Regions from separate parts of the Homo sapiens genome. Here all the other regions are linked to region 3. Evidence: promoter capture Hi-C in 16 types of primary human blood cells and fetal thymus (Javierre and others, 2016). All regions are on one chromosome and are shown on one strand. The core of a region is centred on a gene start or on the middle of the fragment in contact, and the rest is flanking DNA. Distances in the headings are between cores, read along the strand shown.

Region 1 (4,661 bases), core at 73-2,572, 210 kb before region 3:
AAGAAAGAATCGGGTTAAATAATAGAGGGCACAGGGCCAGCGAATTAAAGCACATCACTTGATTTTGTGTTTCAAATAACTGCCTTGGAGTAAATGAGCTCCTCAGACCAATTTCTGACACAAGGCCTACACCTCACAGCCTTCCTGTTCTTCTGCATTCCTGCAAGGGCTCTTGCACGTAGACCTTCAGTTCGCTTGTGAACTGTTGCTCTCTAGTGGTGGTGTGAGGCCTTAAGGAAACACCTGCTACTGTGTGGTCAGGAGGTAAAGTGCTGGGCTCTCATATTGTCCTCCCTGTAAACACCTTCCTTTCTGCGTTTGGACACCTTCACCAGATTCTATTTTCCATTTGATCATTAGTCAAACACTTATTAGACAAACAAGTGGGCCAGAAACTGACAGATGTTAGAAATACACAAATAAAAGTTATAGACTCTTCTATTTCATGTGTTTCATAAAGTATTAATGGTATATAAATTAAAAAATAGAAATTAGGTAAGAATAACCTCCATCACCGATATTTGACATTTCCTTTCTCAATTATAAATCATTGATCTTAAGTTATTGTTCTTTCAATATCTGAAACATTCTAGGTATTAAATTGATATTGAGTGAGTGAATGAGTGAAAGAATGAATGCGTGTATGGTAGAAGCTATTTTGGGGAAAACGGTCTTCAATGCTCAGGTATTATTAAGAGCAAAGCTGCTTTCTCTATCTATGTAGTGTTTATGACCAAGAGAAAAGGCTTAGATATATGAGCAGAAACAGAGGATTTTGCAGTTTATTTTCTAAACTTTGGTCTTTTGTACTTTATGTGAATGTTCAATCACATGGTTTTAATATATTTTTCATATATGTTTCAACTTTGTATGATGTGAAATCACAGAAATTATATCATCTGTTGTATTTTATTATATAATATCTATTTTTTGATCCCATAGAAGTACCAGGGTGTTTTTTTTTTTCCTTTCAGGGGTCATTGTTTGCATAAAAAGAAAAAAAAAACTAATTTAACTAGATATTTAAGTGATTTGCAAAGCAGTGTGTTTCCAGCTGTTGAAGGACTAAGGTTTTAAGAGAGTATAGAACCGATTGTACTACTCATTAGTCTAGGTAAAGCTTGTGTGGAGAAACAGCTCCATGAAGTCAGATTTGAGGCCTCTAAGTCCTAGCCCCAGAATTTTACTATCTCTAGGTAACTTTGGAGAATAATATGATTCTTCTTATGTTTCTATTCTTCGTTTTCAAACAAGGTTAACAATCTAAGCTGCAACTAAAGTGTGATAAGAGGTTCTAATGATATAATGCATGTAGAATACATGTAGAAATCACTTCATGTTTGAATTACCACTACCAATGCTCAATCAGAAAAAGTATCTTAATATCCACCTTTGTCTTGTCAATTTGTTCCCTTTCTGTTCTATCAGATGTAGTTCTAGAGATTTCTAAGCCTTGCCATCATACACTTTTTCTCTATATTTGAGCTTAGCCTGTATTGTAAATATAAAATCCTTTGAGGCAGTTGAAGCTTTTACTAATATCTTTATTCTCCAGTATCTAGCACATTAGCTGACAAGCAATAAGTTCTTGATTTATTAATTTATAATGTATAGGCATTTAATATTAACTTTTAAAATAATTAGACAATGAATATATAAATTCAGAGCACATATCCATTAAAGGCATGTAAGCAAACACATTACAAACATCTATAAGAAAAGGGCCCCATAATTATTTAAAAAAGTGATTATGTGATATTTTATAGTTTTGTGCCTCAAGAATATATTTTTTGCAGCTCATGTATTTTTAATATGCACACTTTTTATTTAAATCTTGTATTTTATTTAAATCTTTTATTTATTTAATTATTTAAACTACGCATTTTAAGGGTCTTCCATGCCTTTTCATAGCTTGATAGCCCATTTCATTTTAGTGATGAAGAATGTTCCATTGTCTGAATGTACCACAGTTTATCCATTCACCTACTGAAAGACATCTTGGTTTCTTCCAAGGTTTGGCAATTATGAATAAAGCTGCTGTAAACATTCATGAGCAGGCTTTTGTGTGGACATAAGTTGTCGACTCATTTGGATAAAGACCAAGAAGTGGGATTACTGGATTATATGGTAAGAATGTGTTTAGTTTTCTAAGAAACTGTCAACATGTTTTCCAAGTGGCTGTGCCATTTTGCATTTCAATCAGCAAAGAATGAAAGTCCTATTGCTCCACATCTTTATCAGCATTTGGTGTTGTTCATATTTTGGATTTTGACATTTCTAATTGGTGTGTAAATGTTTTCAAAGAAAATTTTAAATTTCAATAGCTTTTGGAGTACAAGTGATTTTTGGTCACATGGATGAATTTATATAGTGGTGAATTCTGAGATTTTATTACACTCATCAATCACCCAAGTAGTGCACTCTTTACCCAATATGTAGTTTTTTATTCCAAAACCCCTCCTATTCTTCCCCTTCTGAGTCTCCAAAGTCCATTATATCACTCTGTGCGCCTTTGTATACTCATAACTTAACTCCCACTTATAAGTGAGAACATATAGTAATTGGTTTTTCTGTAATAGCATGTTTTAATGTGAAATTACCTAATGACATATGATATTGATCATATTTTAATAAGGTTATTTTCCATTTGTATATCTTCTTAACAAGGTATCTGTTCAGATCTTTGGCCCATTTTTTAATCAGGTAATTCATTTTCTTATTGTTGAGCTTTAAGAGTTATTTATCTATTTTGGATTACAGTCCTTTATCTGATATGTCTTTTGTTAAGTATTTTCTTTTGGTCTGTGGCTTATCTTTTCATTTTTTAAAAAATTTTATTCATTTATTTTTAAGTTCCAGGATACAAGTGCAGAACATGTAGGTTTGTTACATAGGTATACGTGTGCCATGGTGGATTGCTGCACCTATCAACCCACTATCTAGGTTTTAAGCCCCACATGCATTAGCTATTTGTCCTAATGCTCTCCCTCCCCTTCCCCCCATCCCCTGACTGGCACTAGTGTGTGTTGTTCCCCTCCCTGTGTCCATGTGTTCTCATTGTTTAACTCCCACTGATGAGTGAGAGCATGCGGTGTTTGGTTTTCTGTTCCTGTGTTAGTTTGCTGAGGATGATGGCTTCCAGCTTCATTCATGTCCCTGAAAAGGACATGATCTCATTCTTTTTTATGGCTGCATAGTATTCCATGGTGTATATGTACCACATTTTCTTTATCCAGTCTATCATTGATGGGCATTTGGGTTGGTTCCATATCTTTGCTATTGTGAATGGTGCTGCAATAGACATATGTCTGCATGTGTCTTTATAGTAGAATGATTTATGCTCCTTTGGGTATATACCCAGTAATGGGATTGCTGGGTCAAATGGTATTTCTGGTACTAGATCCTTGAGGAATCACCACACTGTCTTCTACAATGGTAGAACAAATTTACATTCCCACCAAGAGTGTAAAAGCATTCCACTATCTCCACAGCCTCACCAGCATCTATAGTTTCTTGACTTTTTAATAATCGCCATTCTGAATGGTGTGAGATGGTATCTCATTGTGGTTTTGATTTGCATTTCTCTAATGACAAGTGATGTTGAGCTTTTTTTCATATGTTTGTTGGCCACATAATGTCTTCTTTTGAGAAGTGTCTGTTCATATCCTTTGCCCACTTTTTGAATGGGATTGTTTGTTTCGTTCTTGTAAATTTGTTTAAGTTCCTTTTAGATTATGGATATTAGACCTTTATCAGATGGGTAGATTGCAAATATTGTCTCCCATTCTGTAGGTTGCCTGTTCACTCTGAGGATAGTTTACTTTGCTGTGCAGAAGCTCTTTAGTTTAATTAGATCCCATTTGTCAATTTTGGCTTTTGTTGCAATTGCTTTTAGCATTTTCATCATGAAGTCTTTGCCCATACCTATGCTCTGAATGGTATTGCTTAGGTTTTCTTTTAGGATTTTTATGGTTTGTGTTTTCTGAGGCCAGAATCATCCCGATACCAAAATCTGGCAGAGACACAACAAAAAAAGAAAACCTCAGGTCAATATCCCTGATGAACATCAATGCAAAAATCCTCAATATCATACTGGCAAACTGAATCCAGCAGCACATCAAAAAGCTTATCCATCACAATCAAGTTGGCTTCATCCCTGGGATACAAGGCTAGTTCAACATATACAAATCAATAAATGTAATCCGTCACATAAACAGAACCAATGACAAAAATCATATGATTATCTCAATAGATGCAGAAAAGGCCTTTGATAAAATTCAACATCCCTTCATGTTAAAAACTCTCAATAAACTAGGTATTGATGGATGTGTCTCAAAATAATAAGAGTTATTTATGACAAACCCACAGCCAATATCATACTGAATGGGCAAAAGCTGGAAGCATTCACTTTGAAAACCGGCACAAGACAAGTATTTCCTCTCTCACCACTCCTATTCAACTAAGTATTGGAAGTTTTGGCCAGGGCAATCAGGCAAGAGAAAGAAATAAAGGATATTCAAATAGGAATAGAGGAAATAAAATTGTCTCTGTTTGCAGACAACATGATTCTATATTTAGAAAACCCCATTGTCTCAGCCTAAAAACTCCTTAATGAGCCCAAAAATCAATGTGCAAAAATCACAAGCATTCATATACACCAA
Region 2 (4,251 bases), core at 688-3,187, 140 kb after region 3:
TAGAATTTTATAGTTTGAGGTCTTAAGTCTTTAATCCATTTTGAATCAATTTTTATGTGTGATGAAAGGTAGGGTTTCACCAGTTTCAATCTTCTGCATATGGCTAGCCAGTATATTCCAGCACTTTTACTGAACAGGGAGTCCTTTCCTATTGGTCGTTTTTGTCAACTTTGTCAAAGACCAGATAATTGTAGGTGTGCAACTTTATTTCTGGGTTCTCTATTCTGTTCCCTCAGTCTATGTGTCTGTTTTTGTACTACTATCATGCTCTTTGGGTTATTGTAGCCTTATAGTATAGTTTGAAGTTGGGTAACATGATGCCTCCAGTTTTGCTCTTTTTGCTTTGGATTGTTTTGACTATTCAGGCTCTGTTTTGGTTCTGTATGAATCTCAGGATTGTTTTTTCTAATTCTGTGAAAAATGATACTTGTAATTTGATGGTAATAGCATTGAATCTGTACATTGCTTTGGGCAGTATGCCATTTTAACAATATTGATTCTTCCAATCCATGGGCATGACATGTTTTTCCATTTATTTGTATTGGCTCTGATTTCTTTCAGCAGTGTTTTGCAGTTCTCCTTGCAGAGATCTTTCACCTCCTTGTTTAGTGGTACTCCCAATAATCATTTTATTAGTGGTTATTATAAGTGGGATTATGCTCTTAACTTGGCTGTCAGCTAGAATGTTACTGGTGTTTAGAAATGCTACTAAGTTGTGTACATTGATTTTGTATCCTGAAATTTTGTTAACATCATTTATCAGTTTTAGGAGCATACTGGCGAAGTCTTTAGAGTTTTCTAGGTATAGAATCATGTTGTCAGTGAAGGGAGATAGTCTGACTTCTTTTCCTATTTGGATACCTTTTAAGTCTTTCTCTTGCCTGATTGCTCTGGCTAGGATTTTTGGTACTATGTTGAATAGGAGTGGTGAAAGTGGACATCCTTATCTTGTTCCAGTTCTCAAGGGAAATTTTTCCAGCTTTTGCCCATTCAATATAATGTTGTCTGTGGGTTTGTCTTAGACGACTCTTATTATTTTGAGGTTATCTTTCTTTAATGCCTAGTTTGTTGAGGTTTTTTTTTTTAACCATAAGAAGAGGTTGGATTTTACTGAAAGCTTTTTCCATGTCTGTTGAGATGGGATCATATAATTTTTATTTTAAATTCTGTTTATGTGGTGAGTCACATATATTGATTTGCATATGTCAAACCAACCTTGAATCATAGATATAGCCTACTTCATTGTGGTTAATTAACTTTTTTTTGTATTATTAATTTTTATTCTTTTTAGAGACAGGCCTCGCTATGTTGCCCAGGCTAGTCTCGAGCTCCTGAGCTCAAGCAGTACTCCTGTTTCAGACTCCCAAAGTGCTGGAATTACAGGCATGAGCCACTGCACCCAACTGATTGTGGTGAATTAACTTTTTGATCTGCTACTGGATTTGGTTTGCTGGTATTTTGCTGAGGATTTTTGCATCTATGTTTATTGAGGATGTTGGCCTCAAGTTTTCTTTTTTGTTCTGTCCGAATGATACTGGCTTCATAGAATGAGTTAGGGAGGAGCCCTCTCCTCAATTTTTTGTAATAATTTCAGTAGAATTTGTACTACTTCTTCTTTGTCCATCTGCTATAATTCAGCTCTGAAGCCATCTTGTTCAAGACTTTTGTTGGTTGGTAGATTTCTTATTATTGTTTCAATTTTGGAATTTGTTATTGGTCTGTTCAGGTTTTTGCTTTCTTCCTGGTTCAATCTTGGGAAGTTATATGTTTCCAGGAATTTATCCATTTCCTCTAGATTTTTAATTTGCATAGAGATTTTCATAATGGTCTCTTAGGATCCTTTGTATTTCTGAGGAATTTGTTGTAATCTCATCTTTGTAATTTCTGATTGTGCTTATTTCTTTTTTTTATTAACCTACCTTATGGCCTATCAATCATGATTATTCTTTCAAAGAACCAGTTCTTGGTTTCATTGATCTTTCATATGGTGTTTTGCAACTCAATTTCATTCAGTTCCTGTTTGATTGTATTTTTATTTTTTATTTTATTTCATTTTTTTGAGACAGAGTCTCACTGTGTCACCCAGGCTGGAGTGCAGTGGCACGATCTCAGCTCACTGTGACCTCCACCTCCTGGGTTCAAGAGATTCTCATGCCTCAGCCCCCCGAGTAGCTGGGATTACAGGCATGCACCACCACACCAGAATAATTTTTTTTTTTTTTGAGACAGAATCTTGTTCTGTCACCCAGGCTGGAATGCAGTGGCACGATCTTGGCTCACTGCAACCTCTGCCTCCTGGGTTCAAGTGATTCTCCTGCCTCAGCCTCCTGAGAAGCTGGGACTGCAGGCAGACACCACCATGCTCAGCTAATTTTTGTATTTTTTAGTAGAGATGGGGTTTCACCATGTTGGCCAGGCTGGTTGTGAACTCCTGACCTGAAGTGATCCGCCCACCTCGACCTCCCAAAGTGCTGCGATTGCAGGCATGAGCCACTGTGCCTGGCCTAGAGTTAGTACTGATATGTGACATTGATCCTGTCATCATGTTCTTAGCTGGTGACTTTGTAGTTTCTATTGCATAGTTGCTTTATATTGTTGGTGGGCTATGTGGTTAAATGCATTTTTGTGATAGCAGGTATCATTCTTTCATTTCCATCTTTACAGCACTCCTATAAAGACGTCTTGTAAGGCTAGTCTAGTGGTAACAAATTCCCTTAAGCATTTGCTTGTCTGAGAAATTTATTTCCCCTTCACCAGTCAAGCTTAGTTTATCAGGACATAAATTTTTTGGTTGGAATTCCTTCTCTTTAAGAACACTGAAAATAGGCCCCAATCTCTTCTGACTCATAAGGCTTTTGCTTAGAGGTCTGCTACTAGCCTGATGGTCCTCATTTTGTAAACGACCTGACCCTTCTCTCTAGATGCCTTTACATTTTTTCTTTTGCATTAACCTTGATGAATCTGATAACTATGTGCCTTGGGAATGCTTGTTGTGTCTAGTATCTCATGGGGGTTATCTGTACTTCTTTTTTTTTTTTTTTTGAGATGGAGTTTCACTCTTGTTGCCCAGGCTGGAGGGCAATGGCACGATCTTGGCTCACTGCAACCTCTGCCTCCCAGGTTCAAGCGATTCTCCTGCCTCAGCCTCCCAAGTAGCTGGGATTACAGGCATGCACCACCATGTCCAGCTAATTTTTGTATTTTTAGTACAGACGGGTTTGCCATGTTGGCCAGGCTGGTCTTGAGCTCCTGACCTCAAGTGATCTACCCACCTTGGCCTCCCAAATGCTGGGATTCAGGCATGAGACAACACGCCAGGCCTTATATTTCTTAAATTTGTATGTTAACATCTCTAGTGGGAGTGGAGAGATTGTCATGGATCGTATCCTCAAATATATTTTCCAAATAGCTTACTCTCTCTCCTCTCTCAGGAATACCAATGAGTTATAGGTTTGGTCTCTCTATATAATTCCATATTTCTCAGGGCTTTTGTCCATTTTTTTAAAATTATTTCTTCTTTATTTTTGTCTGACTGAGTTGATTCAAAGAACCAGTCTTTGAATTTCTTCACAGCTTGGTCTATTCTGCTATTAATGCTTCCAAATGTATTATGAAATTCTTGTAGTAAATGTGTCAATTCCAGAAGTTCAGTATGGTTCGTTCTTAAAATTATTTTTTTCAGGCTGGGTGTGGTGGTTCACGCCTGTAATCACAGCACTTTGGAAGGCCAAGGCAGGTGGATCGCTTGAGGTCAGGAGTTCAAGACCAGCCTGGCCAACATGGCGAAACCCTGTCTCTACCAAAAAATACAAACAATTAGCCAGGCCTGGTTGTGTTCGCCTGTAATCCTAGCTACTTGGGAGGCTGAAGCAGGAGAATCGCTTTAACCTGGTAGGTGTAGGTCGCAGTGAGCTGAGATCGTGCCACTGTACTCCAGCCTGGGTGACAGAGCAAGACTCCATCTCAAAAATAAATAAATAAATAAATAAATAAAAGTCTTTTATCTTTCAGCTCTTGGATCATTTTACTGGATTCCTTGGATTGCGTTTCAACAGCCTCCTGAGTCTCAGTGAGCTTTCTTTCCATCTAGGTTCTCATTTCTGTGTCTGTCATTTCATTCTGGTTAAGAGCCATTGCTGGGGAGCTAGTGTGCTCATTTGGAGGTAAGGGGACACTCTTACTTTTTAATTGGCAAAATTCTTTCTCTTCTGAGAGGGCTGGTATTCCTTTAACTGTGGTGTAAGTTGAATA
Region 3 (4,844 bases), core at 198-2,697:
GTGGAAGGTTTGTCATCCTGCTCTTCACAATAAACCTTGCTACCACTCAGTCTTTGGGTCCGTGCCATCTTTAAGAGGTGTAACCCTCACCGCAAAGGTCCGCGGCTTCATTTTTGAAGTCAGCGAGACCAGGAACCCACCGGCAGGAACCAACTCCGGACACGGACCAGAACAGAGATAGAAAACCATTCTTAATTTCTTATTTTTGTAATCATCTATTTAAACTGGTCCTCATGTCAATGGTCTCTGCCTTTTCTGAATTCAACTAGAATAGTAAACATAAGCATAGATTTATTATTTGTTTCAATATTTTTGATAGTGGAGTTTTATTGATATATGACTTAGAGCCTCCAAACATTTTTTTGATTATTTCATCAATTTGAAAAAAAAAAAAACAAAAAACATGAACAAGTAACATATGTATATTTAGGTGTTTAGAGATCATGCACAGCGTTCCTAAAGAGAAAGTTTTTACATTGCCTTTCTGCATCTGCTTCACAGCTGTGGGGTGAGTGCACCTCACGCTGGACACCTTTGACTAAGATAATCTCCACACAGATATGAACCTTGGAAGTTTTAGATCACTCCCCACTCATCTGAAACCACAAAACTCATACCCAATCCTTCCCCTAAGTACAGTTATCTAATATTCTGCCTCTCCCCAAAGGAAAGCTTTAGAGGAGATTCCTTAATTTCGTCCCTCATATATAGCGCTCCCCCCCCATATTTTCCTGGGTTCTGTATTAACTACATATTGCTGCTGTAACAAATTACCACAGATGTATTAACTTCCGGTAGTTATCTTTTTAAAATCTTGTCCTGTGTATTCCTTGCTGTCTGCAGGATTATCCCATGGTTGTTGTTCTGTTAGGAACTTTCCCAACCATGCCAGAAGAGGGCACTCCCATTCATACTCACGTTAAGTAGCTAAGTAGCTATCAGTTTCTTCTCCATGCTCCATTACCAACACCATGTCTCTCTCTCTCTGTCTCTCTCTCTCTGTCTCTCTCTGTCTCTCTCTCACACACACACACACACACACACACACACACACACACGCTTGAATTTTCTATAATAGCAGCCAGGTGTGTGGCACAGCTCTTTCTGTCTTAATGTGTGTCTCTCTGCTTAATATCTAATGTGGCTGAGAATAAACTAGAACCAATGTCTCCAGGCAGATTAGCTAGCCTTAGATAGATGTAAAGAAGACAACCTGACTCTTTTCTGAAACATTCAGAGCATCCTCTACCCCGAGGATCATGGGAATTCCCTCATGTTCCTCCTGCTCTGCCTCAAGCACCCCTTCTTTGCTGCACAGCAAGAAACAGTTCTGACAGAGCAGACAGTTTGAGATCTGTAACATTCTAATGAGAATATCTCTAAGGAGAATATTTGGCTTTTCTCACTTTCTCTGTAGAGAAACAAATTGTCATTCTTCTCTTACAGAGGGGCAGTAGAGTGTGTCTGGGTCAGCTGAGTGACTACATCAAAGCTCCCAGCCTTGAAAAACACATGCTGTTCCCAGGCCTCAAGATATTGAAACATTAATTAGATAATTTAAAGTAGCGTTTTCTTCTACAATGTCTGAAGAAGTGACCTACGCGACACTCACATTTCAGGATTCTGCTGGAGCAAGGAATAACCGAGATGGAAATAACCTAAGAAAAAGAGGTAGGAGTTCAGAGAAGACCAGCTGTGTCCTTGGGGGAGTGGACAGGTGTTAAATGCTTTGAGGTGCCAGCTTTAATACTGGCGTTAAAGACATGTGCTGTGAAATCTCCAAAATGGGGACAAATAGTTGTGGAATGTATTAGAAAAGTGAGTGTTCCCAAGGTTGAAGTGAAAATATGTGGCTTTCAGAACCTCTTTAAAGTTGTGTGATATCACACAGTCAGAGAAATTCTGACTGCACATGCCAGAAATTGAGCTTGGGGAATTAGAGATTTCTTCTTATGAATATAATCCTTGATATTTATACCTTGTTAGAGATGCCAGGAGGATATTCTTTCAGAAACCAGATTGGAGGCTTCTAAAATAGAGAAGGTAGAGGACGTTTTTCTTTTAGATGATGTAAGTTACTTAAGAGAAAACTGGAAGATGAGTGAGTGGATTAGAAATAGATCAGAGCTAATTTTTCTTTTGTCAGTATTTTTTCAAATTTTAGGGTAGTTGAAATCCGAGCATAATTTGTAATGTTGAACCAGTAATAATAGTATCTGGGTAGTATTTTATGTACATTATATACAGATATAATTGTAATGAAAATCCACAATAATATTCGAATATTAGTATTTTCTCCATTACATAGATGAAAAAACTGAGGGTGAGAGAAATTAGATAATTTAAGCAAGCTCACACAACTGCTATGTGGGGAAGCCCAGTCTCAGTGCTGGTCTTCAGCTCATTCTCTTATGCCTAATTGGAAAAATAGCAGTCTCCATGGTCAAGACTCTGATTTAATATATAAGACCACATCTCTTATTTTCAGATATGTTAACTATCCAGGTTCTCCTGAATCATGTCAGTCATCTGAACTACTTTCTCCTGCCCTCTAGATTTATCTTTACATTTTGTGTGGTGCATGACATTTGAGGGAAGGATATTTACAAAAAGCCGATGGGAATAGACTTTGCATATGTCTAATAAATGTGGTTACACATTTTTGCCTTGTTTTGTTTTACTTTTTAATTCTAATTCTAACCTGTGAGGAAAAAGGAGGTGTGGATATGGTGCATATCACAGTGTACCTAGAGTCTGTCATGCTGTATCTAAAACATTGCGCTAGATGTTATTTGGACCTAAATCAAGGGATATGAAGCTAAGGAAAACATGACAACCATTGATATTTTAAACAACAACAATGACTAGGATGCTAACGGCTTTCTGGTCTATTCTGCTGTTTGTAGGTTAGACTGCACATTCTTTCCTTCTTTCATTCAGTATTCATTCATTATTTATTAGGTGATAAATAGCATGAATAATAGATAAGTTATTGTTAACAGGTAAAAGATACTTTAAAAAGTCGAATCCACTTTTACAAGGCAGATAGAACATGTGCCTTATAGAGACTTTTGAGCTCAAAAGCTTGAGGTGTCTCCTACTGTCAGCATCATCCAGAAAAGCAGTTTTTAGATCTCTCATTTATGAATTCAATAAACTTGAGGAAGAAAAGTGGGCAATGATGTAAAACAAAAACCTTGAAATTAGGAGAAGCTTCCTTTTTATTTTATTATTATTATACTTTAAGTTTTAGGGTACATGTGCACAATGTGCAGGTTAGTTACATATGTATACATGTGCCATGCTGGTGTGCTGCACCCATTAACTCGTCATTTAGCATTAGGTATATCTCCTAAAGGTATGCCTCCCCCCTCCCCCAACGAAGCTTCCTCTTAAAGTGAAGGAGAGCGGTGGAGAAATGGAGGGGAAACAAGGATGGCACCCTCATTGCACTTCATATTAGGTATTTTCTAAATGAGGGCATTAAAGAAGCAAGAAAGAAACGTTAGTATCGGGAAGCTCCCTAAGTGGGAGAAATAAACAAACCAAAGTGAAACAAGCACAAAGCAGTTCTGTGTGCTGATTGCTCTTTTGGCTTTCTCCAGGGCATCCAGCTCCATCTCCCATTTGGCGTCATGCTGCTCTGGGTCTGGTAACTCTTTGCCTGATGTTGCTGATTGGGCTGGTGACATTGGGGATGATGTGTAAGTATATCAGCATCAAACCCAACAAAGGCAACTAGAAAACATATTGTAAACCATGTACTTTCAGCTTGGATTGTAGATGGGTCCTAGCATCCTGAATCGTCTGATACTTTTCTGCTGTCTCATATCTCTCCTATTCGTCATATCTTCCCAAAAAACCGGCAAAAGACATTATCAGGATTTGGTTCTAAATTCATTGTTTTATCTTGATAAGCTAAACTGGACTTAGACAAAGACTCTTTGTTTCCAGTTATTCATTAGAATAAAGAGCCTCTTTTCTGCCTAGACACACATTCACTTATCATTCCAATGCTGAGAAATAAAGTCAAGAAATATGTATTGAAGGAAGTGCTTGCTATTTTTATTTACCTGAAAGACTTAACACTAGACTAGGTTCAGTCTGCTTACATGAAACTTCTCTAGTGGAGAGAAATCTTCCAAGTAGCAGCAGCAGCCTGATTTCTATGAATGAGAAAGACATATAAACAAAGAGGAAGAGTGGCCTGATACACCTTACCAAGTAAGAGAGTTGAACCATCTCCACATGACAATGGAAGCTCCACTCTCAAGCACCACAGCCACAAAGGAACATTCTATTGATTCTGACCCATCCTCGGGAAGTTGGGGATGAACATGGTAGGGAGTTCTTGAGTAATGAGAAAAACATCCTGAGAATACAAACTTTATAGGGTTGTTAAGTATATGGTATACAGAGTAGTGAATTGGCATGGTATTCGCTTACAGGGAACTCACAGTCAAGAAAGTTAATTTGCTGAATGATACTAACATCTCCTCTGCTACATTCATTTCTTTTTAATGATTTAATGGATAATTTTTTAGGATTTAATGGTTAATTAGGATTTGGACATATCTTTGCCAACATAAAAAGAGACTAATGATGTACCTTGCTCTTTTGAAAAGGAATATGATGTTCAAGCAGCAGTAACAGATATTCTGGAGCCAATCAGTATGAGGATTAGCAGCCGATCTTCTACAATAATGTATATTTAAAAATTAAGTGAAAATGCAATAACGTACGTCCATTGGTTCGATATAGAAGGGTGACATTTCTTTTCTAAAATTTAGTGCTTTTGGTGCAGTGGTTCTTAAATTTGTTGTGCTGATGAAGCACCTTAAATG

Evidence for each region. The method cuts DNA at HindIII sites, captures the fragments that hold promoters and counts their contacts. A CHiCAGO score of 5 or more calls a contact.
Region 1: a contact is called between a fragment that was not itself captured here and the fragment with the promoter of CLEC12B in region 3, in 4 of 17 cell types (megakaryocytes, monocytes, M0 macrophages and 1 more). The highest score is 5.5, in megakaryocytes.
Region 2: a contact is called between a fragment that was not itself captured here and the fragment with the promoter of CLEC12B in region 3, in 7 of 17 cell types (M0 macrophages, neutrophils, monocytes and 4 more). The highest score is 9.8, in M0 macrophages.

The regions. Positions count from the first base shown.
Region 1 is chr12:9,798,004-9,802,664 of GRCh38, forward strand. It overlaps a transcript of KLRF1 not described here. Among named protein-coding and RNA genes, the nearest start is that of KLRF1, 27 kb to the right of the region's middle. RefSeq lists an enhancer at 51-150. The HindIII fragment of the contact is 409 bases long and covers 1,119-1,527 here.
Region 2 is chr12:10,149,003-10,153,253 of GRCh38, forward strand. No RefSeq gene overlaps it. Among named protein-coding and RNA genes, the nearest start is that of CLEC7A, 21 kb to the left of the region's middle. The HindIII fragment of the contact is 1,645 bases long and covers 1,116-2,760 here.
Region 3 is chr12:10,009,180-10,014,023 of GRCh38, forward strand. CLEC12B (C-type lectin domain family 12 member B) reads left to right here and starts at 1,448. Exons shown (of 6, transcript NM_001129998.3): 1 at 1,448-1,671; 2 at 3,606-3,704. The coding sequence starts at 1,581. The HindIII fragment of the contact is 2,412 bases long and covers 671-3,082 here.